Linked DNA regions of Homo sapiens: all the other regions are linked to region 3. Evidence: promoter capture Hi-C in 16 types of primary human blood cells and fetal thymus (Javierre and others, 2016). All regions are on one chromosome and are shown on one strand. Each heading gives the region's core, a stretch centred on a gene start or on the middle of the fragment in contact. The rest is flanking DNA. Distances are from core to core; before and after follow the strand shown.

What was found. Contacts are between HindIII fragments. The CHiCAGO score rates a contact against its expected background, and 5 or more counts as called.
Region 1: a contact is called between a fragment that was not itself captured here and the fragment with the promoter of UCHL5 in region 3, in 7 of 17 cell types (neutrophils, total B cells, naive B cells and 4 more). The highest score is 10.9, in neutrophils.
Region 2: a fragment that was not itself captured here is called in contact with the fragment with the promoter of UCHL5 in region 3 in 5 of 17 cell types (neutrophils, total B cells, naive B cells and 2 more); the score reaches 13.7 in neutrophils.
Region 4: a contact is called between a fragment that was not itself captured here and the fragment with the promoter of UCHL5 in region 3, in 2 of 17 cell types (neutrophils and M1 macrophages). The highest score is 8.6, in neutrophils.
Region 5: a contact is called between a fragment that was not itself captured here and the fragment with the promoter of UCHL5 in region 3, in 10 of 17 cell types (neutrophils, M2 macrophages, M1 macrophages and 7 more). The highest score is 10.7, in neutrophils.
Region 6: a contact is called between a fragment that was not itself captured here and the fragment with the promoter of UCHL5 in region 3, in 1 of 17 cell types (neutrophils). The highest score is 10.6, in neutrophils.

Annotation. Positions count from the first base shown.
Region 1 is chr1:192,507,534-192,511,654 of GRCh38, reverse strand. No RefSeq gene overlaps it. Among named protein-coding and RNA genes, the nearest start is that of RGS1, 66 kb to the left of the region's middle. The HindIII fragment of the contact is 3,059 bases long and covers 922-3,980 here.
Region 2 is chr1:192,462,004-192,466,228 of GRCh38, reverse strand. No RefSeq gene overlaps it. Among named protein-coding and RNA genes, the nearest start is that of RGS1, 110 kb to the left of the region's middle. The HindIII fragment of the contact is 4,743 bases long and covers 1-4,208 here.
Region 3 is chr1:193,056,954-193,061,449 of GRCh38, reverse strand. It overlaps UCHL5 (ubiquitin C-terminal hydrolase L5), which reads left to right and starts at 2,090. Exons shown (of 11, transcript NM_001199261.3): 1 at 2,090-2,265. The coding sequence starts at 2,190. It overlaps RO60 (Ro60, Y RNA binding protein), which reads right to left and starts at 1,838. Exons shown (of 9, transcript NM_001173524.2): 1 at 1,674-1,838. It also overlaps SCARNA18B. RefSeq lists enhancers at 939-1,671, 1,739-2,268, 1,672-2,404, 2,429-2,738. The HindIII fragment of the contact is 5,498 bases long and covers 1-4,496 here.
Region 4 is chr1:192,483,357-192,487,707 of GRCh38, reverse strand. No RefSeq gene overlaps it. Among named protein-coding and RNA genes, the nearest start is that of RGS1, 90 kb to the left of the region's middle. The HindIII fragment of the contact is 2,469 bases long and covers 1,682-4,150 here.
Region 5 is chr1:192,541,310-192,545,730 of GRCh38, reverse strand. All of the region lies in intron 4 of LOC105371664 (a long non-coding RNA gene), which reads left to right. Among named protein-coding and RNA genes, the nearest start is that of RGS1, 32 kb to the left of the region's middle. RefSeq lists an enhancer at 522-581. The HindIII fragment of the contact is 3,242 bases long and covers 493-3,734 here.
Region 6 is chr1:192,524,450-192,528,931 of GRCh38, reverse strand. The region is part of intron 4 of LOC105371664 (a long non-coding RNA gene); the gene reads left to right. Among named protein-coding and RNA genes, the nearest start is that of RGS1, 49 kb to the left of the region's middle. The HindIII fragment of the contact is 6,156 bases long and covers 1-4,482 here.

The sequences.
Region 1 (4,121 bases), core at 1,202-3,701, 550 kb after region 3:
TTGATAATTTTTAAGTTTCAGTTAAATTCAGTTCAACACAGGGAGTATTTCCGTGCATCTTCTTTGTTCCAAACATAGCGCCACACACTCAGTGAAATTTAATCTTAATGCCTTGAAAGAAATAGATGCTAAAGGCTCTTATATTTTTCTAAACTGTAACTTTAAAACAAATCAGCAAACACATCTTAATCATAATATAAAAGGAAGAAAACATTAAATATAATCTAATACAACTTTATTTATGGATGAAGAAACTTCTCAAATAAATAACCTGCCCAAATTCACACAACTAATTGTGGACATGGCATGGATTGTAATTCAATATTTTTAGTAAACAACTCAGAACCAAATTCTCTCCTGGATTTTGAAAAAAAAACTCTGGGAAATATGCTGACATGTACCTTTCAATCCCTACTTTTACTAGTTCTTATTACCTCATATATAAATGATCATGTTTCTTTCTTGCTATTCTACTTGCCAGATCTCTACTGCCCCCAGCTCATCTTGTACCTGGGAGCCAGATAATCTTAAATTAATTTTTCTTGGCTGTGTGCCGTGGCTCATGCCTGTAATCCCAGCACTTTGGGAGGCTGAGGCGGGTGGATCACAAGGTCAGGAATTTGAGACCAGCCTGGCCAATATGGTGAAACCCTGTCTCTACTTAAAATACAAAAAAATTAGCCAGGCGTGGTGGCACATGCCTGTAATCCCAGCTACTCAGGAGGCTGAGGCAGGAGAATTGCTTGAACCCGGAGGTGGAGGTTGCAGTCAGCTGAAATGACGCCATTGCACTCTGGCCTGGGCAACAGAGCAAGACTCCGTCTCAAAATAATAATAATAATAATAAATAATAATAATAATAATTTTTCTCCTTCCATGTTCATCTTAGATTCCCAGGCTCTCCTGGATACAATGAAAGCTTTTTTGGCTAGCTCTGGAGGACTTCTAAAATCTGTTTATACTTTTCAGTCTCCACTATTTCTTTTATTGTTCCCCAAAATGAACCTTCTGCTCCAGACCTGCGATTCTCATGCACACACAAAACATTTGAATTCCTAACCTTCACTCACATGGATTCACCCACTGAGAATGTCTTATTTCCCCCTCCACCTATATGGCAAATCAGAATAGCGTGTCAGTGTTGAGCTTGGGCTCTCATGAAAGCCAAATCATGACGAAATTACAGCTATGTCCTTTGAACAACTTATTAACCTTTCCAGACATTCTTTCTTTGATTTCCTCTTATAGCATATAGGAAATGGGACAGTAGCAGCAACTTATCATAGGTTTTTGGTGGAGATTAATTGAGATATCACACGTAAGGCACTATGCCTGGCACCTGGCATGTAATGAACACAATGAATGTCAGCAATTATTATTTTTATTAAAACACTATTAATCAGTCACCTTTCTGTCACATTGTTCAATTTGCTTTTCCCAAATCACTCTTAAATTTGTAATTGTACTCATATCATTTAGCTTCTAACGATTTATTTCTCTCTCTTTTTAAAAAATACATTAAAGTTTCCCAGACTTTTTCTCCTAACTGGGCTGTAAACAATTTGACAGTAGAGTTGAGGATCCAAACACTTCTCACAACATTCACTGCAACCATCCTGGTCCAAGCCCCTATCATCTCTTCACCTAATTGCAATGATAACTTTATAACTATTCTCTCCATTTCACCAGTGACACCAGCCAGAATAATCTCCTACCATAAACAATAATTTCATTTCTCTGGTCACGACCTTCTAATGGCTTCTTACCTTAGTAAGAGTGAAGACAACGTCATTATAAGACGCTGTGCAGCTTCACCCTCCTTGCCTCTGTGTCTTTGTCTCCTATCATCCTCCTCTCACTCATGCCTCCAGGCACACTGCTCACCTGGCTGTTTCTCAAACACAACAGGCCTCACCCCCGTCAGAACTGCTACTGATGTTGTTCTTCTACCTGAAATGCCGTTCCTCCAAATAGTTACATGTCATTGTTCCTCACCTCAACTCTCAGGTCTTTGCTCAAATGATACCTTTTCAGTGGGGCTGTCTCTGGTCATCTAAATTGAAATTACAATTCCCCCCACTAACCCATAATTTCTATCTCTTTTCCCTGCTTGTGCTTGTCCTTAGTAGTTATCAACATGTACCATACTACATATTTTGTATTTATTGCCTGCCACCTTATGATATGTATTTATGAACACATTTTTACTGGTATGACAGATAAAGCAATCAAATATTTAATGAATGTAATACTTCATAAAAATTCTTACCTTAGTAAGAGTGAAGACAACATCATTATAAGATGCTGTGCACCTTTGCCCTCCTTGTCTCTATGACTTTATCTCCTATCACCTATGTCTCCTATCATCAAATACTTGATGTTATGTAATACTTTATAAAAATTCTTCCATAATTGTTAAAGCAAACTAAATATGGCCTGAGAAGGACTCTATACTATATTTGAGTCCTTGTGGAGGAACTGCAGCCTAATCTAGTGGGTAGACAAGATTGAAACCCTAATTTAGGAGTATGGGCCTATTAACAGTGGCTGAGTCTTGGCCAGTCCCAGCAGCCATACTTCAACCAGTCATTCACTGCTGAGTGTTCAAGCTGTATTCAAATAAGGTAAATGCCAACCTGTAATCACTCCAGCTGTTCTGTACCTCACCTCTGATTTCTATACGTCACTTTTCTTTTTTTTTGTCTATAAATCTGTTCTGACCACGAGGCATACCTGGAGTCCTTCTGAATCTGCCATGATTCTGGGAGCTGCCTGATTCACGAATCGTTCATTGTTCAATTAAACTCCTTTAAATTTAATTTGGCTGAAGTTTTTCTTTTAACATTATTAAGCATAGGACTAGAAATGTTGTGGATACTCATCATGGTTGCAGTGTCTCTTTCTATGTGAATTTAGAGGTTTTTTTACTTCTGTAAGCCTGTTTTCACCTGGTCCATTTTAATTTCTTTTTTTTTTTTTTTTTTTTGATGAGTCTCGCTCTCTCACCCAGGCTGGAGTGCAGTGGTGCAACCTCCGCTCACTGCAAGCTCCGCTTCCCGGTTCACGCCATTCTCCTGCCTCAGCCTCCCGAGTAGCTGGGACTACAGGTGCCTGCCACCACGCCCGGCTAATTGTTTGTATTTTTAGTAGAGATGGGGTTTCACCATGTTAGCCAGGATGGTCTCGATCTCCTGACCTCGTGATCCGCCCGCCTCGGTCTCCCAAAAAAGTGCTGGGATTACAGGCATGAGCCATCGTGCCTGGCAAATTTCTTACATACATAGTGGATACTTAACTCTTCTTATATATATTATTATTTCATTTGATATTTAAAACATTCATAGGATGTTATTAGTTGTGCTGTGTAGATGATAAGGAAATGTATCTCAGAGCACTCTTCAATTATTCTATCCTTTAGATTTTAAATAGCCCTTATCGTCCATATTATATTTAAGGCACCTGATTATTTTCCATCTCACGTTGTTCTCTGTTTCAGTCTTCTATGCCATATTTCTTTATAAATATTATTCACTCATTTATGGATAGGTAGCATTCAGGTACTAAGAGAGTATTAGGTGCATAGTAAGGGCTCAATAAATATGTGTTGAGTCAATCATAAAGAGTCATAATATCTTAAATCGAATATACTTTTTATTTTAGTTGGAGCAACAGGTCTGTGATCCTAGGGAGAAAGAGCCACTCACTTATATATTCGTCTCCTACTAAATCCTTTGAAAATAAGTACCACTCAATTTCGTGCATAAGAATATATATGTATCTATATGCAAGAATATCATATATATTTATATTACTGGAATTCACTAAATATAGTGGAATGGCATCCACTGGGTTGAGGATGAAATAGTACATTTAAAAGAAATTCCTGTAATTTTTTCCCCTTGTTTAGAAATTAAAATCAAAGCAGACATTTTAATTAGGGATAATTGAAATATAGAATCAATAAACCATAGAATCAAGCTTTATATTGATTTTTTAAGTCATTCAGAGAGATGGCGTTTATGCCTAAGAATTTTGAGGATAAAACCAGTCTTTTAAAAGATTCCTGATTTTGTGTACTTGCAATTTCTACATTTCTTCTTTATCCTCATCATCTCTTCCCC
Region 2 (4,225 bases), core at 588-3,087, 590 kb after region 3:
AACTGTTTATTGTGTATTTCAAAATAACTAAAAGAGTAAAATTGGAAAGTCCCTAACACAAAGAAATGATAAATGCTTGAGGTGATGGATACCTTAACTACCCTTATGTGATTATTATACATTGCATGCCTGTATCAAAACAGCACATGTATCTCTTAAACATATACATCTATTATGTACGCGTAATAGTTAAAAGTTAAAAATAAAAAAAACTAAGAATTGAATTAATTAAATAGTAGATGTGCAACTTGAGGTCTTGTTTTTAGATCCAAGGTAGAACCTCACAAATTGATCTGCACTTAGTAAAGAACCCAACAAATATTTGTTGAATTAATTAAACTTTTAAAAGGATCTGCATTACATTGGCAAGGACTTCATGACTAAAACACCAAAAGCAATGGCAACAAAAGCCAAAATAGACAAACGGGATCTAATTAAATTAGAGAGCTTCTACATGGCAAAAAAACTACCATCAGAGTGAACAGGCAACCTACAGAATGGGAGAAAATTTTTGCAATCTACCCATCTGACAAAGGGCTAATATCCAGAATCTACGAAGAACTCAAACAAATGTAAAAGAAAAAAACGAACAACCCCATCAAAAAATGGCAAAGAATATGAACAGACACTTCTCAAAAGAAGACATTTATGCAGCCAACAAACACATGAAAAAAAAATGCTCATCATCACTAGTCATCAGAGAAATGCAAATCAGAACCACAATGAGATACCATCTCATGCCAGTTAGAATGACAATCATTAAAATGTGAGGAAACAACAGATGCTGGAGGGGATGTGGAGAAATAGGAATGCTTTGACATTGTTAGTGGGAGTGTAAATTAGTTCAACCATTGTGGAAGACAGCGTGGTGATTCTTCAAGGCTCTAAAACTCGAAACACCATTTGACTCAGCAATCCCACTACGGGGTATATACCTAAAGGATTATGAATCATGCTGCTATAAAGACACATGCACACGTATGTTTATTGTGGCACTATTCACAATAGCAAAGACTTGGAACCAACCCAAATGTCCATCAATGATAGACTGGATTAAGAAAATGTGGTACATATACACCATGTAATACTATGCAGCCATTAAAAAGGATGAGTTCATGTCCTTTGCAGGGACATGGATGAAGCTGGAAACCATCATTCTCAGCAAACTATCACAAGGATAGAAAGCCAAACACCGCATGTTCTCACTCATAGGTGGGAATTGAACAATGAGATCATTTGGACACACAGGGGGGAACATCACACAATGGGGCCTGTTGTGGGGTGGGGGGCTGGGGGAGGGATAGCAATAGGAGAAATACCTAATGTAAATGATGAGTTATTGGGTGCAGCAAGCCAACACGGCACATGTATACCTATGTAACAAACCTGCACGTTGTGTACATATACTCTAAAACTTAAAGTATAATAAAAAAAAGAAAAAGAAAAAAATGCAAAACCACGTCTGTGAACTTACATATCACCATCATGGGAACAACTTTTCATTAAAACTTTAAGGATACTGAACAAAAAAAGGACCTGCCTTAATTAAACTTAGCACAGAAAATTACTTATATTTCTTTGATTTCAGAAAATCCAGGAAGACTCAATCACCCCAAGTAATATTCTCGAGAAGATCAGTAATATTTGAAATGCTACTTCAGAAAATCACTTATTTATTCATCAAATCTAGATGCACTATTTATTAGGTACAAGTCACTCTGCTTGGTGCTGGGAATACAAAAAATAGTGGTTTACAGTCTGGTGCAGGGAGTCAGGTGTGCAAATAGCAATCACTTATTTTGTTGTATTTATTTTTTGACCAATGATCATCTGCCTTTTGTTTAGTGAATTCCTCTCCTCATCCTTCTTCTATTTCTTTCTTTATTTCCTAAGTATTGCTCATTTTGGACAACCGGTTAGTTTTGAAGAAGAGTTGGGAGAGGTATCAGAGAGGAAGGTGGGCTTGCGGTTTAAAAATTCAGACAGATTTCTCCAAGTGTTTTGTTATACTCTTCCATATTTTAGGGTAGCAGGAAGGTCCCCTGGGGGGCTCTGCGAAGTCCACTGTGTCACCCACATACGTGTTTTTCCAAATGTACACGCACAGGAGTGCTGAGATCTTTTCTTCTTTTCTAGCTGGTACAGGACTGCTTGCTATTTATATTTTATTTTCTATGCCGCCACTCTCACAGCAAAGGCAGTTTTCTATATATTTCCTCTTTCAGTTCCACCTTCCCGGCCACTTCTTTGTAATACAAAGGCATCAGGGAGGCTCCCAATGCCTGTCCACCCACTGGAATCTTGCTATTCTAGCAGGAGACCACTGTTTGCCCCTTAAGGTGTGATGCAACTAGAGCAAGCCCTGCCCTGAGCACTGTACCAGCGCTCTGCTCAGATCTCCTACAAGCAGTCAATGCCCTGGTCCAATTTTCATTGTACTTCAGAGCTCATCTTTGTATATTTCCATTCAGGGTTATGAGCTTTTGTTAATTTTACTGAAGGTGTAGTGGTCTTTTCTGTTCTTCCCCTTTCTGTTCTTCCCCTTGTTACTTTTGGATAGTTTCTAAGAAGAGAAAAGAAGAGTCAGAGACATTGGCTCAGCCTTCTTTTCCCAGAATTTTCTCAAAAGACTTAAAATGTAGTCTTAGTGAGAGGGAGGGAAAGACGGAATGCTGAAAATTGTTGGTGATAGGAAATTAAAGTTTAAGATTTAAGAGGTGAAGGAATTTGAGATGGTGACACGTTCTAATTTCATCTCCATTCTTTTTTTTTTTTTTTTTTTTTTTTTTTTTTGAGACGGAGTCTCGCTCTGTCGCCCAGGCTGGAGTGCAGTGGCGCGATCTCAGCTCACTGCAAGCTCCGCCTCCCGGGTTCACGCCACTCTCCTGCCTCAGCCTCTCGAGTAGCTGGGACTACAGGCGCCCGCCACCACGCCCGGCTAATTTCTTTTTGTATTTTTAGTAGAGATGGGGTTTCACCATGTTAGCCAGGATGGTCTCGATCTCCTGACCTGGTGGTCCACCTGCCTCAGCCTCCCAAAGTGCTGAGATTTCAGGCGTGAGCCACCGCGCCCGGCCTTCATCTCCGTTCTATCAGAGGTAGAATGGAGATGAAAAATAAAGGAGATGAAGAAGTGAGGAAGCTGAAGAGCAGGGATTTTTACTCCATCATTCAGGTAAAAATGGAAGGATAATTGCAGTAATTGGGATTGGAGGAAAGATTGCGGATTATATAACAAAGTTTTCAGATAATGTGCATTAACTGAAAGCTAAGTGGTGAAAGAATACAAATACAAGCATTATAATGCTGTGTTTAAGAGAGAAGCTGCAGCCCATGGCAGCTTAAGAGATAAATCATTGTATAACAGATGTAGTGAGAAAGTGCAGGCTTAGGGTGGCAATGTCTGCCTGCATCAGCAAGAGCTGGCTGGAATTTGAGAGGATAACAGATTACTGAAGATGCATCTCTGTGTTAGAAGAGATGGTTCCTGCTTTTGCTTGAGTCACAAGAGCGTCAGCAGAATCTGGGCTCACGCTTTTCTAGGTATTTTTTATGATACCCAGAAATTCTGCTAAAACCTGTGGGGGAATTTCTGATTTCATTAAATTTTCACTGTTGTATTTTTGCTGCTTCTTAATTAAGTAATAATAGAGTATGAAGAAAAATGCTATTAAAAAAAAGATTGTGGCTGTTTCCTCCTAATGGAATTGCTTAGTTTATCTCTGGGGTAGATGGTTCTTTTGTTAATAAAAGCACGGGGTAGGATTTGATATCATTTTTGCTTGAGAAATGTAAGGCTAAGGATGTAGTTTGGATGGAGTAGCTGGCAAGAAGACAGACAATATAAAGTTAGAGGTATTTGGAGTTACCATGAGTAAATGAGAAGATAGCATTAAAAAGAAAAGTCAAAATAGAGAGGAGGAGCTCCTTAAGAGCATGTCAGAAGGAAAAGACTTACGGACACATCTAGACAATGATGAACATGTCTGTGGCAGAGAAGTGATAACAAATATCTAGAAACAGCGATGACCTCTATTGAATTTGCAGTATTTCCTTCCTATTCAATACTTCCCCATCTGTTGCCATCAAGTTTCCACTGAACATTTTTTTTAAATTTAAAATAGGCTTGTGTTTCTTATAATTTGTGGAATTAAAAAAAAGATGTCGTTTTGGTTATGACCAGATGCAGCTCTGTATGGCAGAAAGCTTGAAAGAACGTGGCTTA
Region 3 (4,496 bases), core at 841-3,340:
TTGAAAATGCTGCCTTTCATCTCAAGAAGTCAAACACATTTGCAGATTATTCCTTTTTAAATGAAGTCAAAGCTGACATATCTATGAGAGTGCATGACAAATGTAAAGAAACAACAATAGAAAATTGGGCCCATGATAGAGGTTTGTTTACCCATGATACAGGTATCTGAATCCACTGATCAATGTGATGCTATAAAAACTGATGAGGAAGGAACTGTGGCAAAAATGACAGCATGCTAGTCTGAGGGGAGCTGCCAACTGGTTGCCACGTGGTATGGAACTAGTAGTTGCCAGATCTCATTTTTCTCAAAGACCCAGAAATCTGGCTTTTTATGTAAACTCTCAGGATTAAACGTTAACATAATGAAAGGCATCTTAACCCCCTTCTCTGCTTACTTCTAGATTGTGCCAAAGGCTAAATTTTCAGTTTGGTCTTTCTACAATAGGTACCATGTTAATTAAGTTGGGTATCAAGTACATTTTAGTTTTGATGTATTTTGCACAGAAAACATTTTCAAGTTCATAGCAATATTACAGATTAAAAAAAATACCACAAACTACTTTGGGCTCTGATGCCAATCATTCTGGACTCTGTGCCTCTTAAACTTTTCCAATAAAGTATCTCAAGGAAATATACTGTACAGAATCCTCCTAGTCTCCAAGTTGAGGGCAGAGTTTCCGGAGATAAACTTCAAGAAAGTTACAAAAAAAATTTTTTTTAAACCAACACTTCATACAAATTTTGGCTTCTACCCCATAGCGTACTCAGGCTCCTTTTAATACAAAAGCTGCTCTGTTGCTTCCCTCAATAAAATTTACCACGTTTATTTCATGGCTTCACATAATCTGTAGCACAAGGCTCCCTAACTCCAGGGCACAAGTCACCTATTTGAGAAGGAAGGAGTCAGAGTTTTACCCACTAAAACATTTTTTTTTTCTGGAAGCCAAAGGTCTTTCTTGGAATATGTAGCTTTTAAGGAGTAAATATACACTTAACGACTTCAATATACTCTTAAAAACTTTAATCTTAACACTATAGTATTCTATAAGAGCCTGCTGAATGAGGGCAATTTAGTAAATATTTAGTAAATATTTGGTTTAACTCATCATCCAGTTTTAGAACCATTCCAAATGTTTTTAGATTAATACACGACATTTGTTTTCAACCTAATTTTCCCTTGACGCACCGCATCCCCTTCCACTAGTCTAGCAGCCCCATGGACAAACCTTTCTCCTCTCCCTCGTTATTCCTCTGTGATAAATTCACCCTGTCTTCCCACAAAGATCCTTCTTCCAAAACCCAGATCCCGGGCGACGCCTCTCCGCGCAGAAGCCGCGGGAGAAGGAGGAGAAAGAGGAGGAGTAAAGCAGGCCCTCTCGACGTCGGCCTGTGGGGAGCGATGCCGACAAGCAGGAGCGGTCCCGGCTTCGGAAAGGGCCCACCCTGAGGAATGGTCCGGCCGGGCCTAGCGAGGATGTCCCTACCGCGATGCTGGTTCCGTTACCCAGGGTGGACAGGCGCGGAAGCGGGACGGGGAAGAGCGATAGTTTCGCGGCGTTTGCCCAGCCTCAACCCCTGGGATGCGGGTGAGAGACATGGAGGACTGGTCAGAATTTGCGCGTCCCTGGGGCCGCACAAAAGGCTCCCAGCCGGCCTCCCGCAATGTCCTCACCTGTACCTGGCAGCCGACCCCCTGGATCCGCAGCGCCGCCAGGAGAAGTCCTGCGCAGCGCTGGGAAACGACAAAAGAAGGCAGCCTGACGGGCAGCGACAGCCACAGCAACAGCAACAGCCCCACTGCCGCCGGGGATTCCAGGTTCGGTTCCCGGGAACGAGTCCTGCCCCTCTTCTTTTGCCCCGCCTCCGCCCCAGAGGGGCGAGGATCCCGGATGTTGCCTCCTCGGCGCTGTGAATCACCGCCCTTTCTTCTCAGGCCCCAGCCCTTCCGAATCCGCTACGGGTGCTGCAAGGCCTGGGAAGAGTTTCGATGTCTCTAGGGTGGCTAGAGCGTCCTCCCGCGCTCAGTCGCGCTGCAGGTGACGGCGCCCGGAGGCTGTCGGGAAGTAGGCGGGGTGACGTGTGGTTGACGAGCTCGGCGGCGGGTTTGCTGAGATCTGTGGCCGGCGGCAGCTGGTGCGGGGGGCAGCTGAGAGCGAGAGGTGGATCGGGGCGGTGTGTGGCCAGGGCCATGACGGGCAATGCCGGGGAGTGGTGCCTCATGGAAAGCGACCCCGGGGTCTTCACCGAGCTCATTAAAGGATTCGGTGAGAACCAAGGGGACCGTCCTGGGCCTGGGGTCACGGGAGGAGGCCCAAGCTGGGCATGGAGTGGTTCCCTGCGGCCACCGCCGCCCCGCGTCTGGAGAGGTGACTTCAGGAACCTGGAGTCCGGGTGGGGGAAATGTAGATGTTCTGCCCTCTCCTCAGCTCGAGACAGTCGCGTTTCCACAGTAATTTGTAGAGCCACACCACGAGGGCAAGGATCGTGTCAGTCTTGTGCCTGCTGCATCCTCAGGACCTGGCACCCAAATCCTGTAATTGACTTGAGGGCCCTCGCTCCCCAAGCTCTTAAGCACGTATTGCCCTTTGCACTGCCCCTTCTCTGCGGCGCGCACCTTATCCCGGGCTGGTGAGGTCAAGTGCATTGCTCAGGCCATTAGTCCTGCAGAAGCCACCCTAGGGTGCGCCTTCTCAAGGGTGAGGTGTCTGCGGCTCAAGCCGCCCAGGAACTCGAGATTCTGGTTATTCAAAGCAGAACGCCTTGAATGTGTGAATAGCTCTTCGGGACGTCCACACACGCTGACTGCGTGGGCCTGAAAGGCCACTTCACTGGTTCCGCTCTCTGCTCATTTCTGGCTTCCGGTGAAGTGAGTTTTCTTGAGCTAGTGTTCTAGACTAGAGGCCACATGCTTTCCTCACAGTTTCTCTCTGGCTGTATTTAGTGCCTTTCGTCCTAAATAATCAACACATTTTACTTTTTATCCTTCCCTATTTATCTTGTTCTTAGTCTCTTCTTTGGACAGTACGTTTTTATCTATTTCCCAAGTGTTATTGACTCTACGATGTTAAAACTTTTACGCGGGATTAACAATTAAACGTTGATGTAGATATTGCCTGTTGTACACAGCTTAATATTTGGAATGTCATTTATCAAGCATATGTTGTTCATCTTCTATATCTCAGGCACAGTGGTAAGGATTGGGAAATTTTCTTTTTTTTGTTTGAGACAGAGTCTCGCTCTGTCGCCCAGGCTGGAGTGCAGTGGCGCGATCTTGGCCCACTGCAACCTCCATCTCTCGGGGTCAAGCGAATCTCCTACTTCAGCCTCCCGAGTAGCTGGGATTACAGGCACGCGCCACCATGCCCGGCTAATTTTTTTTTTTTTAGTAGAGACAGGGTTTCACCATGCTGGCCAGGCTGGTCTCAGCTCCTGACCTCGTGATCCACCCGCCTCGGCCTCCCAAAGTGTTGGGATTACAGGCGTGAGCCACGCGCCCACCCAAGGATTGGGAAATTTTCATGTGAATAAACCATAACTGCTGTTTCGAATAATTGACAGTCAAACTATAATATGGTGTGTTAATTGCTATGTTAGAGTATATACAAAATGTTAAAAGTACACAGGTCATGGAGGAGCACAGCCAGAAGGAAAAGCATAAACAGTAGTGATGTTAAAGTATATGGGTTAGCCAACAGCTAGCAAAGTGACTAGAACATAATATAGCAGACTGGAGGAATATTTATTTGGATCTGAAACTGAAAAGATAAACTGAGGACAGATTGTATGCCATGTTGTATAGTTTGAATTGCCCTGTAGTGACTGGGGATTTACCTATCAAATATATTTTAATGCTGAAATGACATTATTTTCATAATTAAGGTTTATTGTGCTTTTAAGTGTGCAGGGCAGGTTGGAATAAAGTGAGAGAAGCTAGACATCTCTTAAAATGGTTGGAGTCCGAGATGATTGGCTAAACTAGTGGGTTAGGAAGGAGGAGTTAGATTCAATAAGTTTGCTATATTTAAATCAACAGTTGCATGTGGTAATGTCTGCTCTTCATTCCTTTGGGAGCAGAAATACATCCATAACACGCTAAATTAAAAAAGGAGTTCTCAGGGCTGCCAACCTTACAGTAGAGGTTGAGTGGTAGTATATTACTCCTACATAAGAGAAAAAAAATCAAAAGGACTGCTTACTAAAAGTTGGGGAAAAAAAGAGGCAAAAATAACTCCCTGGTTTCTAGCCTGGGTGGCTGGTGAAACACTCTTACAAGTGAAGAGCAGGCTTGATGGACAAGAAAATGGATTCAGATTTGGACAGACACTGAGTTTGACATGTCTGCAGATTTAGTCATATATTTTACGTTCAAAACCTTAACAATATGTTAAAGTTAACTTTCAGAAATGTTGTACTAGGTAAGTTTGTTTTTACTCCTTCAATTTCATATGTGCAGAAAACTTGGAGATCATGCATGAAAGAATGATATATAAATTCA
Region 4 (4,351 bases), core at 1,667-4,166, 570 kb after region 3:
AACAGAATGAGACTCTATCAAAAAAAAAAAAAAAAAAAAAAAAAAGAAAGAAAGAAAGAAGGAAAGAAAGAAGCAAAAGATACAAAGGACATTATTGGCATAATTGGGAAAATTTGAAAATGAACTCTATATTACATTGTATGTTGTTTCCTCAATGAGATCATTGTATTATTGTTATATAGGAAAAATGCCTTTTTTCTTAGGAGATATACACTTTGGTATTTAGGGATGAACTGCAAATAATTGTTAAATAATAATAAATAACTGCAAATAATTGTTAAAGGGTTCAACACACACAAACACATACACACTGTAAGAAAATCAAATATAGGAAAGACTTGGAACCAACCCAAATGTCCATCAATGATAGACTGGATTAAGAAAATGTGGCACATATACACCATGGAATACTATGCAGCCATAAAAAAGGATGAGTTAATGTCCTTTGTAGGGACATGGATGAAGCTGGAAACCATCATTCTCAGGAAACTGTCGCAAGGACAAAAAAACAAACACCATATGTTCTCACTCATAGGTGGGAATTGAACAATGAGAACACATGGACACAGGAAGGGGAACATCACACACCAGGGCCTGTCATGGGGTGGGGGGAGGGGGGAGGGATAGCATTAGGAGGTATACCTAATGTAAATGGTGAGTTAATGGATGCAGCACACCAACATGGCACATGTATACATATGTAACAAACCTGCACATTGTGCACATGTACCCTAGAACTTAAAGTATAATAAAAATAAAAATAAAATTAAAAAAGGTTAACATTGAGGAATCGAGACAAGGAGTCTATGGATGTTATATTATTTTTGCATCTTTTCTGTTGATTTCAAAACTTTCAAAATAAAATGTGAAAGGAAAATGAATTTTATGCTAACATTTGGATGCTCACAATTTTAAATTTTACAATTTCTTGTATTTATTTGATCCTCATTGAGCATCTGTTAGTAAATCACCTTATACTCACTTCACTCTAAGTTTGTGGTGATTATTTTTGTGGAAGTATTGCTTTATGATCATCATTAATAAATATGTTAATATAGTGTGATCTCATCATTTACCCTAAAAATGATTACTGAGTTTGGATAACTACATGCCAATTTATTTTCCTCTTAGGTAACAGTGTTGTGTAACACAGTAGTCTTCTAAAATGGTCTCAATATGTACCACCATTATAAAATATTTTCTTGCAAACTTATTTTTTAAGTTCTCATGAAATTGTGGTAGAATTTGTCATGATGTAAAATTCAGTAAATATTCATTACATATGTATGATATGTCTATAACTTCACCAGGCATAGTTCCTGCCCTCAAGGAATTTATGCAATTACCAATATACAACTGGTCAGTTCACTCTAGGAAATATAAGGCAATAATGGGATGACATTTCTCATCTGCCTTAGGAATGAGTAATATGGTGTAATTTACTGGTAACAGTGAGATTTGGGGAAAGACACTTTGATAAATTACATTGAGGCCAAAGATTTGAGTTGTTCCTAAGGAATATGGCTTCCAGAAACTTCTAGCAGTAGATAATTCTTTTAATTTAGAATGTAGTAAGTGTTTTAACCTTTAGTAATTCTATAGGAAAAGTTTTGGCCAAATCAGTTCTTTGGTAACCTATTTTCTGCTGGCATCTAGAAGGAATTCTTTTTTTAAATAAGCTTTCCACCTACTAAGTTGATTAATACCTGGTCAGACAGATATTTGTTTATTCTAGAGGAGTTAGTGGACATGCACTGACTCACTCACCCACTCATATTCTTCCCTAATGTGACCTTCAGCATGTGTTTTCAAGAGCACTGGTTGGGTCAGTGCCAGCCTAAACCATGGAATAAAACCAAGTAAAATGTTGCACAATCTTAAGAGCTTGGCTGGGGAAACACCACACTCCAAATAATAAGTCTACTATTTTCTATGAAAATTATTACAGTTTATTTAATCTAGTTTTACTTTCATGGGGACAGGGGCGAATTAGCATTAATAGAAAATTCATCTCACCATTCAACAGGGTACAAATAATGCCGCCATAAAATTGAAGCAAAATTGGCACTAATGTAAATTCAAATCACTGTTTAACTTTCAATGCAAACCTGTTAACCAAAGAGAGTTGATCAGAAAGCAGACATAGTGGAATTATTTCTTAAAAATATTGTGGTGGTCCTTTCAAAAAACCTTTCAAAAAACCAGCTCCTGGATTCATTAATTTTTTGAAGGTTTTTTTTTGTCTCTATTTCCTTCAGTTCTGCTCTGATTTTAGTTATTTCTTGCCTTCTGCTACCTTTTGAATGTGTTTGCTCTTGCTTTTCTAGTTCTTTTAATTGTGATGTTAGGGTGTCAATTTTGGATCTTTCCTGCTTTCTCTTGTGGGCATTTAGTGCTATAAATTTCCCTCTACACACTGCTTTGAATGCGTCCCAGAGATTCTGGTATGTTGTGTCTTTGTTCTCGTTGGTTTCAAAGAACATCTTTATTTCTGCCTTCATTTCGTTATGTACCCAGTAGTCATTCAGGAGCAGGTTGTTCAGTTTCCATGTAGTTGAGCGGTTTTGAATGAGTTTCTTAATCCTGAGTTCTAGTTTGATTGCACTGTGGTCTGAGAGACAGTTTGTTATAATTTCTGTTCTTTTACATTTGCTGAGGAGAGCTTTACTTCCAAGTATGTGGTCAATTTTGGAATAGGTGTGGTGTGGTGCTGAAAAAAATGTATATTCTGTTGATTTGGGGTGGAGAGTTCTGTAGATGTCTATTAGGTCCGCTTGGTGCAGAGCTGAGTTCAATTCCTGGGTATCCTTGTTAACTTTCTGTCTCGTTGATCTGTCTAATGTTGACAGTGGGGTGCTAAAGTCTCCCATTATTATTGTGTGGGAGTCTAAGTCTCTTTGTAGGTCACTCAGGACTTGATTTATGAATCTGGGTGCTCCTGTATTGGGTGCATATATATTTAGGATAGTTAGCTCTTGTTGTTGAATTGATCCCTTTACCATTATGTAATGGCCTTCTTTGTCTCTTTTGATCTTTGTTGGTTTAAAGTCTGTTTTATCAGAGACTAGGATTGAAAACCCTGCCTTTTTTTGTTTTCCATTTGCTTGGTAGATCTTCCTCCATCCTTTTATTTTGAGCCTATGTGTGTCTCTGCACGTGAGATGGGTTTCCTGAATACAGCACACTGATGGGTCTTGACTCTTTATCCAACTTGCCAGTCTGTGTCTTTTAATTGGAGAATTTAGTCCATTTACATTTAAAGTTAATATTGTTATGTGTGAATTTGATCCTGTCATTATGATGTTAGCTGGTGATTTTGCTCGTTAGTTTATGCAGTTTCTTCCTAGTCTCGATGGTCTTTACATTTTGGCATGATTTTGCAGCGGCTAGTACCGGTTGTTCCTTTCCATGTTTAGTGCTTCCTTCAGGAGCTCTTTTGGGGCAGGCCTGGTGGTGACAAAATCTCTCAGCATTTGCTTGTCTGTGAAGTATTTTATTTCTCCTTCACTTATGAAGTTTAGTTTGGCTGGATATGAAATTCTGGGTTGAAAATTCTTTTCTTTAAGAATGTTGAATATTGAAAGGATCAACAAAATTGATAGACCGCTTGGAAGACTAATAAAGAAAAAAGAGAGAAGAATCAAATAGACGCAATAAAAAATGATAAAGGGGACATCACCACCGATCCCACAGAAATACAAACTACCATCAGAGAATACTGCAAACACCTCTATGCAAATAAACTAGAAAATCTAGAAGAAATGGATAAATTCCTCGACACATACACTCTCCCAAGATTAAACTAGGAAGAAGTTGAATCTCTGAATAGACCAATAACAGGAGCTGAAATTGTGGCAATAATCAATAGCTTACCAATCAAAAAGAGTCCAGGACCAGATGGATTCACAGCCAAATTCTGCCAGAGGTACAAGGAGGAACTGGCACCATTCCTTCTGAAACTGTTCCAATCAATAGAAAAAGAGGGAATCCTCCCTAACTCATTTTATGAGGCCAGCATCATCCTGATACCAAAGTCGGGCAGAGACACAACCAAAAAAGAGAATTTTAGACCAATATCCTTGATGAACATTGATGCAAAAACCCTCAATAAAATACTGGCAAACCGAATCCAGCAGCACATCAAAAAGCTTATCCGCCATGATCAAGTGGGCTTCATCCCTGGGATGCAAGGCTGGTTCAATATACACAAATCAATAAATGTAATCCAGCATATAAACAGAACCAAAGACAAAAACCGCATGATTATCTCAATAGATGCAGAAAAGGCCTTTGACAAAGTTCAACAACCCTTCATGCTAAAAACTCTCAATAAATTAGGTATTGATGGGAC
Region 5 (4,421 bases), core at 864-3,363, 520 kb after region 3:
TCCCTCAAAGAATTCACATATTTTGATACAGATTCTGTTTTTTAATGTTTGTGCTATTTCTATGAGGTTACAAGTTGAAAAAATTACCATTTTATTTTAAAGGTGGGGAAATTTTCCAAGCTTCTCTAGGAGTGAATGCAGTGGAGATTAAATGAGACTACTCATTCACAATCTATAGCTCTTGATTCCAGGTTGTTTGCATTTTTCATTCACAGTCTATAGCTCCTGATTCCAAGCTGTTTGCACTTCCTCATTAAAAATGATTAGGAATGATGAGAAAAATGGTAATAAGTTTACTGTTGCTGGAAATTTTCAAGTTGTCCATGGAGGTACTTTCTTTTTAGGAAGGAACATACAGTGTATCACAGTTCTTGCATGAACCCCTTTAGAGGAAAAAAAAAGTTCAAAGGGGATGTCCAGAGGCGATCGCTCTGGGACTACAGTGAATTGATACTTAGTCAACAGGGGAATTTCTCAAGCTTTCTTAAAGCTTAACCCACAACCACACCTGTCAGCAGTTTCTTCCAAGTGAGAAACATTTACAAGTATATTACGCTTAAAATGTGAAGAATCTTCGAGTCCCTCTTAAACAACTGTTTTTATCCCTTCAAGAGAACTGAATCTAAATAATGGGACTCTGCATGTTTGGCAAATTACTCATTTCCTGAAAATGCAAAACCTAAGTAACAGAAATGAGGATAGCAACACGCTGTGCAGTATAAGTGTGTTTCAAAGGATTCAAGCTCCTCTGAAATATTTCTGTTTAATCGAAGGCCAAAGAGAGTAGAACTCTTACAGTCTTTCTCTACTCCAGGCAATTTCTCTTTTAAAGCATCAGTTGGAATTTCCTTTTTTCATCAATTGACAAAAGCAATTCTTTTTTTTTTTTTTTTTTGAGATGAAGTCTTGCTCTGTCACCCAGGCTGGAGTGCAATGGTGCGATTTAGGCTCACTGCACCCTCTGCCTCCCGGGTTCAAGCGATTCTCCTGCCTCAGCCTCCCGAGTAGCTGGGATTACAGGCACCTGCCATCATGCCCAGCTAATTTTTGCATTTTTATAGAGATGGGGTTTCACCATGTTGGCCAGGCTGGTCTTGAACACCTGACCTCAGGTGATCCACCCACCTCTGCCTTCCAAAGTGATGGGATTACAGGTGTGAGCCACTGTGCCCAGCCAAAGAACGATTCTATTAATGTTAATTTATTTTGTAGTTTATAGTTCCTACACTAAATTGTAGTTTCTGCAGATGAATTTTGGAGTCATGTTGTTTATTAGTGTTTACTTTGAAACTATATGTGGACTAGAAAGTTCTAATATTTATGGGATTGGTTCATAATACTGAGTAGTACTTGAAGTATTTAGTCTGTCAGACTTTAGGTAAAATCACAGGTTAAATATTCTGGAGAGAGAACACTATCTCTCCATTAAAAGATATATAGAAAATGTGGTTTCATAATAAATCATTATGATATTTAATGATCTATATTGTTTAAAATGAACCAATGTTATATTTTTATAGAAATAAAAAATTATTCTTATAATCTAATTGGCTATCAGTTGACCTACAAAAGTTGAAGAAAAAGAGCAGAAAGAATAAGTCTCTCTTGTCTAAGATAAAGCCAGACATTACAGCAGTGAAAACAGATTTTCTTCAGAAACGACTGACAACAGGAGAAAGAACTGATCCCAGTGCTTTAGGAGGCCGAGGCAGGAGGATTGCTTGAGGCCAGGAGTTTGAGCTCAACCTGGGCAACATAGCAAGATCCTGTCTCTAAAAAAGTTAAAAAAAAAAAAAAAAAGAAGAAGAAAGAGCTGAACTCCATTCTGATTTGTGCAGAAGTGACTGAGTGCTTTAAAGGGAAAATGAGGGAGTAGGGACAGGGAGCGAGTGAAGTCGTAGGAGCTGCATATATATCTCCAAAGGGAAAGAGACAGGATTCACAATTATAATCCTTTTTTAATAAGTGCACTGAGAAGGAAATATCAGGGGCCTATCATCAGGTATTAGCCAGAACAAACAGGAAATGCTTTTGACACCCATGAGCTTTTGAAGGCAGAAATTCATGAGATGGTTGGGTCATACCAGGGGTGTGAACTTAGGCCGCTTAGAAACCATACTAGCTACTGTGGGTCAGGTCTCTCAGTGCAGGGATTGAAATTAAGTTGTTATATGCCGAGACTTCTTTTTCTCTCTTTTCTCTCCTCTCCTTCCCTTTGTTCCCTCTTATTTTGTCAGGATGCACTAACGGAAACAGAAATTACCACTATAGGTATTTTAAGCAAGAAGGATTTTAAAAATACGGGACATGATGTACTTAAACAATTATTGAAATGTTAAAGGAGAGGATAGTAGGCTGGGTGTTCAGGACTGACCCCAGATTGACTCCACTAGGAAGCTACTGCCTCTGAGGTCTTCACTAAAGCTGTAAGTTTAGGAACAATTCCTGGAGCTGCTATGCAGTCGTTAGAATGCTGGAATTAAGAAGTGGGGCACTGCTACCATTGCAACTGCCTTCCAACACTAATAACACCCGAAAGTGGATTCTCATAGCTACAAGCTAGGTATTGACTCTTGACACCCAAGAACCTGTGGAATAGGTGCCGGCAGTTTACTCTAGAAACACCTTATGTTTCCACAACTTTACATGCAAACAGAAATAAGAAGATAGCTTTGACCTTGCTGCTTGCTTCCAAATCTTCTAATAAACAGAAACTAACTTGCATCAGAATACTAGCTACTCAAGTATCTTCATGTCTTTTCATTTTCCTCCCCTCCTTTTCTCTCTTCATCTTTTAAATGTATGAATACATGCTTGTTCCATGAAAAGTGCTAAACATTGCTGAGCTTTAAAAATTATACATGAAATAGGTGAACTCCATGCTTTTATGTAGTCACAGTCTACACAGGGGAAAAAAGAGGATTTACTTGTTGTAAATAAATAAAGTTAAGTGCTGTACTAAAACTGTGCATGCAGGGTTTTGGAAGCATGAAAGAATTTATCTCTAGAAGGAATCAGAAAAGTGGTCATAAACATGGCCCTTATATTGTCTATGAAAAGATGAATATGAGGTTGTCCAATAAGGAGTGTGTTGGGGGCATCCTCTTAGATAGAGGACACAGTCTATTTGAAAATACAGGTTTAAGAAAGTTTGGTGGGCTATGACTGGGTGCAGTGGCTCACTCCTGTAATCCCAGTGCCTTGGGAGGCTGAGACAGGAGGATCACATGAAGCCAGGAGTTCAAGACCAACCTGCTCAATGTAGCAAGACCCTACTTCTAAAACAATTTTTTAAAAATTAGCTGGGCATGGTGGCATGCGCCTATAATCCTAGCTACTTGGGAAGCTGAGGCGGGAGGATTGCTTGGGCCCAGGAGTTCCAGGTTACAGCGAACCCTATGCCACCGCACTGCAGTAGCCTGGACAAATAGAGTGAGACCCTATCACAAGAAAAATAAAAAATAAAGAATAAAAAAAAGTTTGGTGAGCTAAAGGAATAGCAAAATGTTCAATACAGTTCTATTATAAGGATAAGTCGCTCCAATTCTAGAAAATAGTGGAATATAAGAACTTACCTCTAAGTATAAGGCCGTGACCCCTGAAAGAACAATAATAGCTAAATAAATTGCTACTTTGTCTTTCTCCAACATTGCTTTATTGTTTGCTATAGGAATTAGATCTAGGCCAATGAGAGTCAATATCTGCTTTCTTGATAAACATTTTCCCTCTAAGCTTCCAACTCCGTATTTATTTATTAAGCTTAAAGTAACACAGAATGTCTTCATTATTATGCAAATAAATATTTCATTTTTGGATTTATTTAACAAATATCATGTGCCAGTTTTGTCCTGGGAATAGTACTTAGTACATAAGAAAAGCTGATGACTGTGTCTATGACAAGGAATCTTTAGTGAGGAAACAGACATGTAGACAACTTCAATATAAATCAGATAACTGGTTTGAAGGAGTAATGTACAGAATGCTATAGGAACTCAGAAAACAGCTTTCCTATGTCACCTAGAGACAGCAGGGGCCTCATGGAGGAAGCAGCATTTAAGCTGAGAAGCAAAGCCTGAGTAGGAATATTCTAGACAGTTTAATATGTGAGAGTGGAAGGATATTCTAGGAAAAGGAAATAACATTTCATATAACAACTGTTCTCAGTGAGGAGAACATGGGAACGAGATTAGACAGGAACATAGGACCAGTTGGCCACTGACCTCAAAGGGATTTGCAGGTATGAGATCTGTGTGGTAGAAACTACAAGTACTGCAAGAAGTCGGAGAAGGGAGGTTTCTTGAGGTACAGAGATGCCAGCTCTGTGCAGGGAGTAGAATTTGACTAGGACTTGTACTTGGAAAGACTGAAGGGAACATTGCTCCAGGTTTGGTGAGCAATGTGGACCACTGTCCAGAGGTTGT
Region 6 (4,482 bases), core at 969-3,468, 530 kb after region 3:
TATAAGTAATCTGACCTGTAATTCCTCTAACCGTATTTTCTTTTTGTGTGTTTTACTTCACTCACAAATCTTCCTTTACTGTGCTGGGCACCATTTTTCCCCGCCCCCAAATTGTGACCTCCACCTGGAGGAATATTCCTTGAATACCTGAATAACTTGCTCTCTTACTTCTTTCAGATTTTACTAAAATCTTAGCTTCTCAATGATGCTTTCACTGACCATGATATTTAAATTGCAACCTCTCAAAACCCTTTATCCTCCTTTTCTGATTTATTTTTATTCACAGCAGTTATAACCATATAAATTCTATATATTATTGCCAGTTTTTACTGCCTGTCTCCTCACACTAGAATGTAACTCCCAGCAGGTATTTTTGTCTTTTTGTTCATTAGTATTTTCCTGGTGCCTAGAACAGTGCCTGCTGCATACTAGTGCTCAAGAAATATTTGTTTAATAAATGATGGATATATTTTTTACATACTTGTTTATATGCATATATAATTAAAGTCTTCAATAAGTAGAGGGAAAAGTTATAGATCTTACTTTAGTCCACTGAGAGAAGCTAGGTAAAAAAGAAATCACAGAGATTCAGTGAGATATAATTATTTTTGTTTTAAAAAATGAAATATTATGTTTTATTATATATTTTTATGTATTTTATATATATACACACAACTTATTCAGTTCTGCATAGAATTTTTCTACTACTCTCCTAACTTGACTCATTTTTGTTTGTTTGTTTATCACTGTGACTAGAAGGCAAGTTCTGTAACCACATCATGTGACATCTTGACTCTAATAGTTATTTTCAGCTCTAAAAGTTTGCATGGGTCAGTAGCAGTTCTCTGGTACTGGCCACTCACAGGTTCCCAAGCTGAAGAGGAGGAATCTTCTGATTCTGCTACCATTCAGCCTATGGAATATGAGTGAAAGAGTAAGAAGGAGGTAGAGAGTACCTGATGTTACATCACAACCCTCTTTTCCATGACTGAGTTTTCCCAAATTGTGCAAATACCCTAATTTCCAGGCATGTCTAATTATCCTTTCCAAAACATGAAAATGACAATAAGAAAAAAAACTTAGAAGAATACATGCATGACCCATGTATCTTTGGTAACCTCTTGTCGTATATCTTTGTTAGCATATGTCTATATATATTTGCGTGTATGGATGTGTATCTCTGGGCACGTGCCTAGTTTTAAAATATATTTGAAGCTGCTCAAGAGAAGGAAACTATTCCTGAGAAATCCCCAATATTTTGTCATGGAAGCTGAGCATTTGACTTTACTCATGACTTCCTTGGCCAGAAGTAAATGGCATAGAGCTCTTGTGAAAGTGAGTAAAAGCGAAAGCCTTTTTGTTCCTGGAATCCAGTGGGAGTCTTAACTTGATATTCATGGATAGTTTCCTTTAGCAAACCTATATTCTATTTAAGGTGTGTGAGTTAGCCTGAGTTTATTCTGTTATCATTCAGTGAGCCTCTCCTCTGACAAATGATTATTCCTGGATCTGGTCACTGAATGGTTTAGTGAGTAGACCTCATACTGTCTTCTGGAAACTCTAGAGAGAGGCAATAAATGACCATAGCAAGTTCTCTTTTTTCCTGTGGAATATATATAGGTTGGTCATGTGAAGGTGAATCAAACGATTTGAACTTGATCTTTTCCTATCATGATTTTGTGACCTCAGGCTGCTTACCACATGAGTGGTACTCATTTGCTTTTTCATTGTGTGGGTTCTTTGTATTGTTTGCAGTGTTAAGTTCTTTGATATTATGTACCTTCGGATTTATTGATAGTATTTTATTAACTTGCAGTTCAATATGAACTTGTTAATATCCAGGTTTAGTTATTACTTTTGTAAGTTACACTTGCATTTAGTTGTGAATGATATGTTTGTTGCTTATACCGACAGAAATGGACAATAGAACTTTGCTATTAGTACCAGGTAGTTCTGTAGAGATTAAACTGAAGGCTGTGTAAAATCAAGATAATTCATTGAGACTGACTAAGTCCATATAAACTTGTAGTTTACTAACAAATAACTTACACATATTTAATTAGTAATTTTTGTATTCAGAATTTTTGTATTCAACAATTATTTACTGGTTCCCATGATCTTTTGGGAATTGCTCTAGACACTGGGAATATAGCAGAGAAGAAAACAAATCAAGTCCCTGACTTCATGAAACTTATATTCTAGTGGTGATGGTGGTGAAGACAATAAGCACATCAATAAATGATATAATGCCTGATAATATGAGCCATGAGAGAGAGAAAAGAAGTAGAGGACAATGTTGGAGAATAAGGAAGGGAAATCAGGAAAAGCCTCTTAGAAGACCTGACATTTTAACAGAGACCTGAGAAAAGTCATAATGCAAGTTATAACAATATCTCAGGGAAGTGCATCTGGACAAAAAGAACAGCAAGGGCCGGGCGCAGTGGCTCATTCCTGTAATCCCAGCACTTTGGGAGGCCAAGGTGGGTGGATCACCTGAGGTCAGGAGTTTGACACCAGCCTGGCCAACATGCTGAAACCCCATCTCTACTAAAATACAAAAAAACTAGCCAGGCGTGGTGTCGGGTGCCTGTAATCCCAAATCCCAGCTACTTGGGAGGCTGAGGCAGGAGAATCACTTGAACCTGGGAGGTGGAGGTTGCAGTGAGCCGAGACCACACCATTGAACTCCAGCCTGGGCAACAGGAACGAAACTCTGTCTCAAAAAAAAAAAAAAAAAAAGACAGCAAATCTAAAGGCTCTGTGGCAGTAGTGTAATGGGTGGTGACAAAAAGATTGATAGGGTTAAAGGTATCAGCTGTTACTAGGCCAGATAAAGGAGGATCTCATAGACCAACCTAATGAGCTTGGGTTTTATTTTGAGTGAGATAGGAAACCAGTAGATGTTTCCAAGAAGGAAAATGATAGAATTTTGTTTATATTTTCAAAAGAATTCCTGTTTTCTTTGGAGAATAGATTAATGGGAGAACAGGGTAGAAAAATGGAAGCAGAGAAACCAGATAGGAGACTATTGCAGGAATCCAGGGGAAAACTGATGGCACTTGGTCTAGGATTCAGATACAGTAAAATTCGGATATAGAGTGGCCAGGGCTTGCTGAAGGAGATGATGTAGGTTGAGAGAGAAAGAGGGGGAGCCAAGGATGCCTTTAGGCTTTTGGGTAGAGCAACAGATGAATAATGGTGGCATTAAGTAACAAGGTGAAGACTGTGGGAGGAAGCATAGGTTTGGATGGGTGGGTGGGAATCAAGAGGTCATTTTGAGAAATGTTAAATTTGCAAAGCCCTCTAAAGATCCGAGGGGAGATATTGAAAAGATAGTTGGATACAGGAGTCTGGATTTTAGGAGAGAGGGGAAGGCCGGGATATAAACTTGGAGGACATCAGCACATAAATAGGACTTGGTGGGAACACCTATGAAGAAGGAGCAATATTGAAAGGTTGGGAAGAAGGGGAGGATCCAACAAAAAGGAGGGGAAAGGAAGAGGGAGAAGACCTAGAGAGTGAGATCTCTTGGAACCAACTGAAGAAAGTACATATTTTCATAAGGAGGGGGCCTATGTGTTAAATGCAGCTGATAGATTAAGAAAAAGAATGACAATTAATCACTGCAATTTGAAGCATGAAGGTCCTTGGACAATCATTAGCAAGGTGTGGAAACATATTTCAGTCTCTAGAAGATTCTTTTTTTTTTTCACCTCAGATCTCTATTGTCTGGTAATACTTTTCTGTCTTTCTTAGTAGTCAAAATTCTGTGGTCATCTAATTTGCAGTAATTAACTCTTTGTAGAAAGCCTTTTGTTTTCCTTTATAAGCTATATGGAAGGGCCTTTCCTTCTTGGTCGTTACTTAAAATTTAGAATTTAGACTGTTCATCTGTTATTGTACTTTCAAACATATTTTACTGCTCACTCTCTCTGACTTGTGTGTTAGAAATTTTAAGGCAGCTTTTGAAAATAAAATTCAATTTATCTTTTCCTAGGAATGTCCTAATAATGTCCTACTTCACATGTTCTTATTAAACCCACTTGCCAATGTTGCTCCAACTATGTGCTTATTTTCTGGGATCTTAATGTTTCAGAAGTAATGATTTCTCTAGTAGGGAGAGATTGGGCTCTATGTCTATCAAAAGTGTTCCAGGTAAATTTGTGATGAAAATAATATTTCCTAGGGAAGATTTATTTATCCTCCTCTTCCTTCTCAGTATTTCTGTTAGATGTTTGCCTATATAGTCATTGGTTATTCGGTGGGAAAAATTAACTTTACAGTTCTTTAAATGTTGAAGAGGAAAACATCTTTAGAAAGGGCAGAAGGTCAATGAGGTTGTGTTAGGGGAAACCACACGTTTTACCAACACCTTCTCACTAGCTGCCTGGAACATAGAAAAAGGAGGAATTGGGAAAATTCTGTTTTAGTTGGCAGTTGGTAGAACTTTAAATGTGGATTTTGGAATTTGTAGTTCATATT